Linked DNA regions of Homo sapiens: region 1 is linked to region 2. Evidence: promoter capture Hi-C in 16 types of primary human blood cells and fetal thymus (Javierre and others, 2016). All regions are on one chromosome and are shown on one strand. The core of a region is centred on a gene start or on the middle of the fragment in contact, and the rest is flanking DNA. Distances in the headings are between cores, read along the strand shown.

Region 1 (5,145 bases), core at 594-3,093, 590 kb before region 2:
AGTGACCCCCACCTTCCGGAAGGCTTGGGACGGAGGTGCCGCGTCATACTGACCCTTCCTGTGGATCTCTGTGTTGGCCTCGGCCTCAGTCAGGGCCTGGGGCAGCGTCCTCAGCCAGCAGGCCTCGTCCACCAGCAGCAGGGTCAGGGCTGGGCTCTGGGGGGGGAGGGTAGGAACACGTGGGGAGGGGTCCGTCAGCAGCCTGCCTGGGGGTTCCCGTGAGTATGTGGGGCATCTGTGACACGGATCTGCCTCCCGGCTTGGCTGGTAGGCCAAGCTGTGGACAGTCATTGGCCCAAGAGCTGGCAGAGGTGTGGCATGGGCCATCTGTGCCATAGTTGACCGGTGGGGCTAACACCGTGCTGGGGCTGGGAGGCTTGGCAGGGAGTAGTACCTTCCAGGGTTGGGCGCAGGGTTCTTGTGGAGACTGAGGCCCAAAGAGGTCGAGCAACATGCTCCAGGTCACACAGCCAGGGAGCAGCAGAGCCTGAACTCACACCCGGGTCTGCGTATCTGTGTTCTCCCCACTGCTCGCCCACCCTTGCCCCCAGAGTGCTGGGTGTGAAACCGCTGTTCCCACAGGGGCTGGACCTGGTAGAGGCTCCTTCCACACAGGCCCTAGATGCCTCCAGAATGACCTCTGTGGGCTGGGGCCGAGATTAGCCCAGAAGATACGGCACTTCCCTAGCAACCCTCGGGCCTCAGTGTCCTCCTGACAGCATGGCTCCCCTCCCTGCCACAGGGCGTGGCAGGGCCACCTGCGTTCCCGCTCGCTCCCGGGGCCGGCACACGGCGGACGCTGGGGAGCACCTGGTGGACTCAGCAGGTCTGTCCCCACCCTGAGGCTGGTCAGGCCCCTTCCTGTGGGCCTGAGACACCAGCACTGTGTTGGATCGGCCCTGGCCCCCCTGGCCTCACTGTCACCCTGGAAAGCAGGCAGTACCCTCCTCTCCATCTCATGGGTGAGGAAACTGAGGCCTGGGAAGGGGAGGGACAGAGCTCATGCCAGTGCCTCGGGCCATGCCATGCTGTCGGCGGTGGCTCAGGCTAAGTCTGGAAGGAAAACACTCTGGGCCGAGCCCGTGGAGGCCGCCTCGTTTCCTGCATCCATTGCACCCCGGCCCCCAGCTGAATGGCAGAGGAAATGCGAGGGGCCCCATCCCAGTGCAGTCGGGGGCTGGGACAGGGCGAGGTGGGGCGGGCAGTCCATGGCCTCGCTCTGTGGTGCCCAACACTGGTCAGACATCAAGGGGAGAAAATGGTGACGGAGGAAGGGGTGACCGCCGCTGCCCCTCAGGCCTCGGTCCCTCCTGCAAGGCTGACTCAGCCTCAGTGCCCTGACCCTCAGCCCTGTGCTGCTCACTGCACTGGTGGTCCCCAAGCTTAGCCACCTGGGTGTCCAATCTGGAGGCACAGCATACACGCGTGCTCCAGCACTTCCTGTAAACACACTTTTTGTTCTATACAAATGAATGCCTTTTAATCAGAAACTTCCTGCACCATGACCTTTGCCTGAAAAGCCAGTGTCACCTACAAATGCTGCCGCTGGCCCGGGACAGGTTTGTGCAGCCCTGTGGTGAGGATGGCAGTCAGCCCAACCCTGCCATGGTACAAGGGGTCGGGCTGGTGACAGTGCAGGGATGTCCCCTGTGGGTCTGGGGTACCTCCCCACTAGGTGCCAGCCCATGAGCTTTCCTGGACTTTGCCAGCACGCGTGGGACCCTGTGGGCCGCAGAGGTGGGCAGTGGGGTCCCAGCCAGGCTCGGCCTCCCTGCTGCGACCTTGGGCAGGGCACGACCAGACCCGTATGCAGGGACCCCTCTGGGCCACCCCTGCCTCTTGGCCCATCCGCAGGGCACTCAGGAATCTAGCAAGATACAGCCTTTGGGCTGGGACGTTCAGTGACTACTCAGGCAAGGTTCAGGCGGGCTGGCCAGCAGAGCAGGTGGCTTCCACGTCACCTGCCTGCTACCACACGGCTCAGCCACAGAACGGGTGAGCAGAGCTAAGCTGGCCAGTGGGGTGGGTGCCCTGGCTGGGGTGGGTGCAACCCTGCAGTCCCAGTGTGAAGCCGTCCCCAGCAGCCACCCCAACCCCTGGCTCAGGTTCTCCTCTGCAGACGGGGCTCTGCCCTCTCCCCACATGGCTGTTGGGGGGACAGAGGGGCGGCCGAGCCCCTGCTCACTCTGGACCCACCCGAAGCCCACCATTAGCCTTTGGGGCAGTCTCAGGGGGGTCAGTCCTATCTCCTTTGACTCAGTTTCCTCCCGGTATGTTGGGAGGCCATGATCTGTGTGAAGCTTTTTGCCTGCCTGGCAGGTTCCCAGCACAGGATGCATATTAGCTCCAGCCCTGGCTGTTGCTTTTGGGTTGACCTGGCAGGACAAAGTGGGCATGGGGTGCCGTCCACAGGGCATGTCCGGGGCAGCACATGCTGAGTGTCCACTGTGGTGAGTGGCTGCCCCGAGAAAGGTGCTTTGTGCAGGCTGGCATCGGGTGGGTGCCCCCCTTTTAAAGGACACCCCCGTGATTCCCAGGGCCGCAGAGCAGGGCTCAGGAACTGCACGCCAGCTGTGGGGCTCTGCCGGCTCCGATGGGGGCTTCTGCTGGGGCAGGCTGGGGGGTAAACCCCAGGGGCAATGGGCAGGCACATTCCTGGCACAAAGGTGGGTGACCGGCGGCTACTGTGTCCCGGCTGCTCCCGAGCCAGGCGGGCAGCGCTCGGCGAGGCTGCTGGGGCCTGGCCCTCCCCACCCTGGCCTTCCTGAGCCTCTAATGAATATTAATGAGCAGAGGAGGGTGAAAAAAATTAATCTGCTTGATCCTCCGATGGGTGCTGCGGTAACGATATGAAATCTAATTATTCGTCCCAATATTTCTAAACCCTCAAACTGAGACTGACAGCCTGCCGGCCGGTTTAATGCTTATCACTCCCAGGAGCAGCGTGTTCCCAGCATGATAAAAACACGCGCCGCAACTGTGCTGACGCTGCACGCACCCCCGATTTTTCTGTGGCGGTCCCGAGTGGAGGGCAGGCGCCATGTTCCCGCCCGGCCCCGCCGAGTGCACCCCGCGTATGTGGGGCGCGACGGGGCGCCTGGCCTGGCTGTGCGGGTGGGGAGGGGCAGGGGGAAGGAGGGTGAGGCTCCCATCCGGCACCCGCCCCCGACCCGGGAGGGAACAGGTAGGAGACCTAGGGGTGCAAGATAAGCAGCTCCGGCCACCCTGCCACGGCCCCCACTGCCAAACACTCTCAGAGGGGCCTGCCGCTCCTACTTCTGCGACCACAGGCTGGGAAGGGGTGAGGGCCTCCCTGCCAGTCTGCCCTGGCTGCTGAGGATGCAGGGGCCACCCTGACACCTCTCAGGGGACAGGTGAGCACAGCCTCGCCTGGGGCCACCAGGGTCCCCAGCCTGGAGGTGGCATGGACACGGCCAGCCCTGAACCAGGGTCTTGCCCGGTGCCAAGTGGCCGGACCCCTGAAGCCAGCCCGGGGCCACCCGCCCATCCTGGGAGCCACTGCTGGGGCCGCGGCCAGGAGACGCTGGGGCAGGAAGCCAATTTCAGCTTCTGCTTCCCTTGCGGAGGGGCTGGCCGGGCACGGGTCTGCCTGTTGATTTTTTTCTGTCTCTTCTTGTTTCCCCACCTCTGATCAGCCTGGAACAGAAGCCCTTTCTCTGGTGCTGCAGGCCCTTCCTGACCCTGCTCTGCCTGTGGGCACTGGGGAGCAAGGGGGAAGGGGGCCTATTTTTTTTTTTTTTTTGAGATGAAGTCTCACTCTTGTCCCCCAGCCTGGAGTGCGATGGCATGATCTCGGCTCACTGCAACCTCCACCTCCGGGGTTCAAGCAATTCTCCTGCCTCAGCCTCCCGAGTAGCTGGGATTACAGGCAAGCACCACCACACCCAGCTAATTTTTGTAGTTTAAGTAGGGACGGGGTTTCACTATGTTGGGCAGACTGGTCTTGAACTGCTGACCTCAGGTGATCTGCCCGCCTTGGCCTCCCAAAGTGCTGGGATTACAGGCGTGAACCACCGCGCCTGGCCTTGGGAGGGGGCCTATTTTTAACTTCCAAACCAGGCCCTTCTGCCAAGACTCTCAGAGATGTGGGTGCTGCGGCCATCTTCCCTCCCAGGGTGCCACAGGCTCGGCACCCAGCCTGGTCAGGCAGGTGTGTCCAGGGTCCACGGAGGACGCTAGAGCCCACCCTGTTTGCCGCCCCTTGGGGTTGCCCTGTCCCTCCTCTGGGCCCTGGCCGGCCCCACCAGCAGTGGCCACTTTAAATTCCCCGGGCGGACCTGAGAATGTTCCTTGTTTCCCCCAACAAAGAGGTCAGTGTCTTGATTCTGCGGTGGCACCGATAGCCATCGGAAACCCTATCTGTGCAGCATCCGCTGTGACAACTTTATCTGAGGCCGTTCCCAAACCTCGCTGTGAAGCTCTGAAGCAGCTTGCAGGGCTGCTGGGGTGGCCCGGCCCATGGAGCCAAACGGCCGGTCCTGCAGAAGCCCCGTGGGGCTGCTTGGTCATCCCCAGGACACTGCGGGGTAGTGGGCCAGCAGCAGGTTCACGGGAGGGTGGGAGCTGAGGCTGAGGCTGAGGCTGCTGAGGCCCCAGCCCGTCTTTCCTCCAGCCCACCCTGAGAAGTCCTCCACCTCCCCATCACCTTAACAGAGGCACCAGCTGGTCCCTCAGTGCCTCTGTCTCCCTCGACCATGCAAGGAGTACACTTCCCAGGTGAGGGCCTGAGGCCTGCACGACTACAAGCCAGGTCCGTGAGACCCCTGCCGCCTTGCTGCTGCCACTTCATCCACTGGGTCACACACTCACTCACTCCCTTATCCGGCAGGCAGGCCTTGTGCACCAGCTGTTGCCAGGTGTGGGGAACACAGTGAACAGAACTGCATCTCCCGTGAGTCCTGGAGTGTGGAGCCGCCCAGAAATAGCAGGTAGGCACCTGGAGGGGCAGCGACAGAGACACGGGACAGGCTGAGACGGGGAGTGGGGGTGGCTGTGCCAGGATGTTGGCCGAGACCTGGAGGGTGAGGAGGGGAGGGTGTGGATACGAGGGGGCCAAGGAACAGCACGGGGGAGGAAACAGAGAGGAGGGAACAGCATGGAGAGGGAACAGCATAGGGGAGGGAA
Region 2 (5,805 bases), core at 999-3,498:
AGTGAATGAATGAATGAATGAGTGAATGAATGATTGACTGAGTGAGAGAATGAATGAGTGAGTGAATGAATGAGTGAGTGAGTGAATGAGTGAGTGAGTCAATGAGTGAGTGAGTGAGTCAATGAATGAGTGAGTGGGTCAATGAATGAATGACAATGAATCAGACTTCCCAAGAGTGGGTGCATTTCCACCATGACTGTGTGGGAAGGAGAGAACATATCATCCAGACTTGGTTTTTGTTGCTCAAAACAAATGCAAGCAAACTCTTGGGCCCACCAGAGCAGTGGCCGAAAGCCGCAGACCCTATCCATTGTGTGGGGGATTTCAGTGGGATTCTTGGGCTTTCAGGAGCCTACAAGTGGACTCGCATTTCAACACCTGTGTTCTGTAGGGTTTTCTAGATCTAAGATTCCAGGATTCTATGAAAAGTTATGATAGCCCTGCCCCCTAAAAGATTGTAAGTTTAAACAACAACAAGAAGTCACAAACTGGTGCATCCCAATCCCATGGGTTCCATTTCACAGGTAAAAGGTGTCTGGGTGAATAAACTGCTGTGCCGCTCAAAGGACCCAAAGGAAGGTTCTTTGTGGGTTGGCGTCTGCAAATATCACCAGCTGCCTGGCTAGAGTGACCAGCTAACATACCCATGTGGACCCTGGGCATGAAGGGAGGTACCAGGCCAGGGGCAGTGGCTCATGCCTGTAATCCGAGCACTTTGGGAGGCCACTCTGGGAGGATTGCTTGAGCCCAGGAGTTCAAGACCAGCCTGGGCAACATGGCGAGAACCTGCCTCTACAAATAATTTTTAAAATTAGCTGGACATAATGGCATGCACCTATAGTCCCAGCTACTTGGGAGGCTGAGGAGGGAGGATCACTTGAGCCTGGGTGATTGAGACTGCAGTGAGCCATGATGGCACCACCGCACTCCACCTTGGGTGACAGAGCAAGACCTCACCTCAAAAAAAAAAAAAAAAAGAAAGAAAGAAAGAAAGAAAGAAAGAAAGAAAAGAAAAGAGGCTGGACGCAGTGGCTCATGCCTGTAATCCTAGCACTTTAGGAGGCCGAGGTGGGTGGATTGCCTGAGCTCAGGAGTTCGAGACCAGCTTGGGGAACACAGTGAAACCCCGTCTCTACTAAAAATACAAAAAATTGGCCGTTGTGGTGGTGTGTGCCTATAATCCCAGCTACTCAGGAGGCTGAGACAGGAGAATTGCTTAAACCTGGGAGGCAAAGGTTGCAGTGAGGCAGGATCACGCCATTGCACTCCAGCCTGGGCAACAGAGCGAGACTCCATCTCAAAAAAAGAAAGAAAGAAAAGAAAAGAAACGAAGAAAAGAGGCTGGGCGTAGTGGCTCACACTTGTAATCCCAGCACTTTGGGAGGCCGAGGCAGGCAGATCACCTGAGGTCAGGAGTTCAACACCAGCCTGGCCAACGTGGTGAAACCCCATCTCTACTAAAAATACAAAAAATTAGCTGGGCATGGTGGTGGGCGCCTGTAATCCCAGCTACTCAGGAGGCTGAGGCAGGAGAATTGCTTGAACCTGGGAGGCAGAGGTAGCAGTGAGCCGAGATCACGCCATTGCACTCTAGCCTGGGCAACAGAAGTGAAACTCTGTCTAAAAAAAAAAAGAAAAGGAAAGAAAGAAAGGTGGCCCTGTTAATGTTTATGCCAAGACAGCAGGCATGACCTGGAAGTGTCCGAAGCCACAGGGCATCTTGCTTCCGGGGAGGATGAATGAATCAAATCGCACCTATTTTAAGGCAAGCAAGGACTCCATGACTTCAGGAGCCCTGGTGGGTGGACAGAAGCTCCCTGCTCCCCTGGCCTGTCTACCCAGCAGCGCTTTGGCCAGTCCCATTCCTGTACTTCTGAGCCTGCCTGCCAGTCCCTCCTCACATGCACACCATGGCTTTGTGCCTGGTATTGAGTGTCCCGGAGCCCCAAACCACACGGTCAACCCCATGAAAGAAACAGGGACTCTGCTCTCATCCACTCGCCCCCGCCTCCCGCGTAATCCCCTGGTGCTCACGCAGCCCCACCGTACAGTTTTTCTAGCTCCCTGGCAGACTTGTGCTCCTGTTTGCCAGATCAAAGCCCAGTGACCTGAGTGGCCTGTCCCCAGCAGAGGCCACTAATCCCTGTGGACCCACCCTGTTGGGAAAGGCATGGGTTGAACTTTAACCATTAGGCTCAGGGGTTGGGATGAGTTTCTACAAAAAGAGGTGGGTACACGCCAGTCCACAGTGGTCCTGATCAAAGTGAGAACAGACAGCAGGGAACATCACCCTCTTCAGACTGGAGTCAGTGGGAACAGACCCAAGATGTTGGGGAGGAACACTTGGAAGACCTCAGCTTTCTCCTTCTTGGTTGAGCAGATGTGGGCCCCTCTCTGGAGTCGTTCGATGAGGCCAGGGCGATGGTGTTCTCAGCGTTCCTGTGCATGGCAAACCAGCAATAACACTTGTAAGTAGAGCCTCAAATTTCCTAAGATGCGACTGGATCCTTGTCTTAGCTGATGGGGTCTTTCGAGAGGAGAGAGGAGAGACCGTCCCGAGCCAGATGGGTTCAGATTTCCACTCCGTTTTTTTTTTTTTTTTTTTAAGATGGCGTCTCGCTCTGTGGCCCAGGCTGGAGTACAGTGGCGTGATCTCAGCTCACCACAACCTCCACTTCCCGGGTTCAAGCGATTCTCCTGCCTCAGCTTCCTGAGTAGCTGGGACTATAGGTGCATGCCACCACTCCTGGCTAATTTTTCGTATTTTTAGTAGAGACAGGGTTTCACTGTGTTAGCCAGGTTGGTCTCGAACTCCTAACCTCGCGATCCGCCTGTCTCAGCCTCCCAAAGTGCTGGGATTGCAGGCATCAGCCACGGCGCCCGGCCCTCTTTTTTCTTTTTTTGATGAAGTTTTGCTCTTTTGCCCAGGCTAGAGTGCAATGGCATGATCTCGGCTCACTGCAACCTCTGCCCTCCAGGTTCAAGTGATTCTCCTGCCTCAGCCTCCAAAGTAACTGGGACTACAGGCACCCGCCACTGCACCCAGCTAATTTTTTGTATTTTGGTAGAGATGGGGTTTCACCATGTTGGCCAGGCTGGTCTCGAACTCCTGACCTCAGGTGATCCACCCACCTTGGCCTCCCAAAGTGCTAGGATTACAGGCGTGAGCCACCGCGCCTGGCCACACTCCGTTTCTCTTGTATTTGGTGACCTTGGGTGAATCATTTAGCCTCCGTTTCAGGGGTCCTGGGGAGGGCAAGATGCTGGGAGCAGGCGGGTAGTCCGTGTTCGCACGGGACACACTGGCACGACTCACCATCCAGACCCGGCGGAATGGGCTGCACTAACCAGTCACGATCGCTCCTAAACTCTTCGGCAGAGAACGCTTTCAAGCAAACCTGTAACAAATAAACCACTCAGCCAGCTCTGCCAAGAAACTGCCCCGTGCCAGCCCCTCCTGGCTTCATGGTCAGTGCCTTGTGACCTTGAACGAGGCCCTTCCTCTTTCTGGGTCTCAGGTGCTTCCTCCGTAGAATGAGAGCCTGCTTTGGCAGCTGCCAAGTTCTCTTCTAACTGAAATCTTCCATGCATTCCATGTTTGGGCCATTGAAAGAGCATGGGCTTAGGAGCCAGACCCCAGGCATGCAGTCCGACTGACGCTTGCTGAGGTGGAGCCTCGGCAGGTCTTCACCCCCAAGCCTCTGTGTCCTTATCTCGAGATGGGGGTGGCCAGACTTTCTCTCCAGGGCCATGGAAGGATGACACGATGCGTGTAGAAAGCCTGGCCCACCCCAGACTCTGAGTGAGCTACACTCATTCCTCCTGTTGGGGTCCACACCTGTGGACTGGAGTGCAGTGGTGCGATCTCGGCTCACTGCAGCCTCTGCCTCCTGGGTTCAAGCGATCCTCTTGACTCAGCCTCCCAAGTAGCTGGGACTACAGGCGTGTGCCACCACGCCCAACTAATTTCTGTATTTTTAGTAGAGATAGGATTTCGCCATGTTGGCCAGGCTGGTCTCAAACTCCCGACCTCAGGTGGTCTACCTGCCTCGGCCTCCTAAAGTGCTGGGATTACAGGCGTGAGCCACTGCACCCACCCCCCTTTTTTATTCTTAGTACGACCGTCAAGAGCGCTAGCCTGCCTAGATTGGAATCTTGGCCCCACTGCTCTATGGCTGTTGCCCCTCTGTGACTTTCCTTTATTTTTTGAGACTAATTTCTGTCTTGTTGCCCAGGCTGGAGCGCAGTGGTGCGATCTCCAGCTCACCGCAACCCCCACCTCCCAGGTTCAAGCAATTCTCCTGCCTCAGCCTCCCGAGTAGCTGGAATTACAGGCATGCGCCACCACATCCGGCTAATTTTGTATTTTTAGTAGATACAGGGATTCTCCATGTTGCTCAGGGTGGTCTTGAACTCCCAGCCTCAGGTGATCTGCCCGCCTCAGCCTCCCAAAGTGCTGGGATTGCAGGCGTGAGCCACCACGCCCAGCTGTCCCCTCTGTGACTTTCTTAACTTCCCCCAGCCTTGGTTTTGTCGTCTGTAACAGGGGGTTGATAATGGTGCTTACGGCACAGTGTCGTTGGGAGAAGGGTCCGAGGTGGGGCCTGCAAAGGCTGGGGACAGCACATGGCTCCAGGAAGCCCTTGCTAGACGCCAGCTGCTGCTGTTGCTAACACAGGCAGCGGTGGGTGCCCTGTGTCTATTTAAGCATTTCCCTGTCAGTGGGCAGCAGGTAGCATTCCATTTCTTACTGTGGCAACATGTCCTCTTACATCGTGTGCTAGAGAGAGTCATATTCTGTATCGGCACCTAAATCCATTTACACCATGGTCCTCAACCTGTTCCCAGTGAACAGAGGGCTCTGCCAAATCATTTCAGAGTTCCACAAAGAGCAGAATATTCTGCCAAGCAGAGAAGATTGGAACATCATAAGGAATTCATCCTTCTATGTCGGTGTTTTATTTATGGGCATTCTGAAGATTATTTCACTTGGAAAAAGAATATTGTTACTAAAAATTATTGAAAAATCACTGGTGGTTTGGCCTTGAGAGAAAAGTCAAAGAGTTACAAAACGCTCAGTGATAATTTTAGAACCAGGCATGGGGGCTCACACCTGTAATCCCAGCACTGTTTTGGGAGGCTGATGTGGGAGGACAGCTCAAGCACAGGAGTTCAAGATCAGCCTGGGCAACATAGCAAGAACCCATCTCTAAAAAAAAAAAAAAATTAAAAAATTAACTGGACATGGTGGCACACACCTATCATCCCAGCTACTTGGGAGGCTGAGGCAGGAGGATCACTGACCCCAGGAATTTCAGGCTGCAGTGAGCCCTGATCAGGCCACTGCACTCCAGCCTGGGCTACACAGCAGGACCCTGTCTAAGAAAAAATAATTTTAGGGATCATTTAATGTTTTCTAGTCATGTTTCAGGGTGTGCACTGGCAGTGCCCATCTGTTCCTAAGTGTGTGATCAGCAACGTTACGTTGGTAACTTAAAATTGGCCATGGTGAAAGTATTTACACCACAGTCATTGGCAAACCCTAGAAATCAAAGATTCTAAATTCCTGGGAGAACGGCTTATTAAACCTCAACCAGCACACTGCTGCACATTTTTGGACATTTTACTGGCTATTTCCTGCTCAGGTGTGTGTGAGTCTTCTTGCATTTGGCTCCCCCCGGGCTGACCGTGGTTGGGCTGGGCTCCCCACTCTGGGTGGGTGCAGGCCTGCTCACTGCATCTCTCATCCTCCCTTCGCAGCCACCTGAGGCCTGTTCTTCTCACGGCGGAGGGCAGGCACTCACA

Evidence for each region. Contacts are between HindIII fragments. The CHiCAGO score rates a contact against its expected background, and 5 or more counts as called.
Region 1: a contact is called between a fragment that was not itself captured here and the fragment with the promoter of CA5A in region 2, in 10 of 17 cell types (endothelial precursors, total B cells, fetal thymus and 7 more). The highest score is 11.1, in endothelial precursors.

The regions. Positions count from the first base shown.
Region 1 is chr16:88,521,825-88,526,969 of GRCh38, reverse strand. It overlaps ZFPM1 (zinc finger protein, FOG family member 1), which reads right to left. Exons shown (of 10, transcript NM_153813.3): 5 at 54-156. ZFPM1-AS1 (ZFPM1 antisense RNA 1) reads left to right here. Exons shown (of 4, transcript NR_148997.1): 3 at 4,850-4,949. Among named protein-coding and RNA genes, the nearest start is that of ZFPM1-AS1, 6.7 kb to the left of the region's middle. RefSeq lists enhancers at 1-108, 336-922, 923-1,510. The HindIII fragment of the contact is 918 bases long and covers 1,385-2,302 here.
Region 2 is chr16:87,932,972-87,938,776 of GRCh38, reverse strand. CA5A (carbonic anhydrase 5A) reads left to right here and starts at 2,248. Exons shown (of 7, transcript NM_001739.2): 1 at 2,248-2,468. The coding sequence starts at 2,327. The HindIII fragment of the contact is 28,449 bases long and covers 1-5,805 here.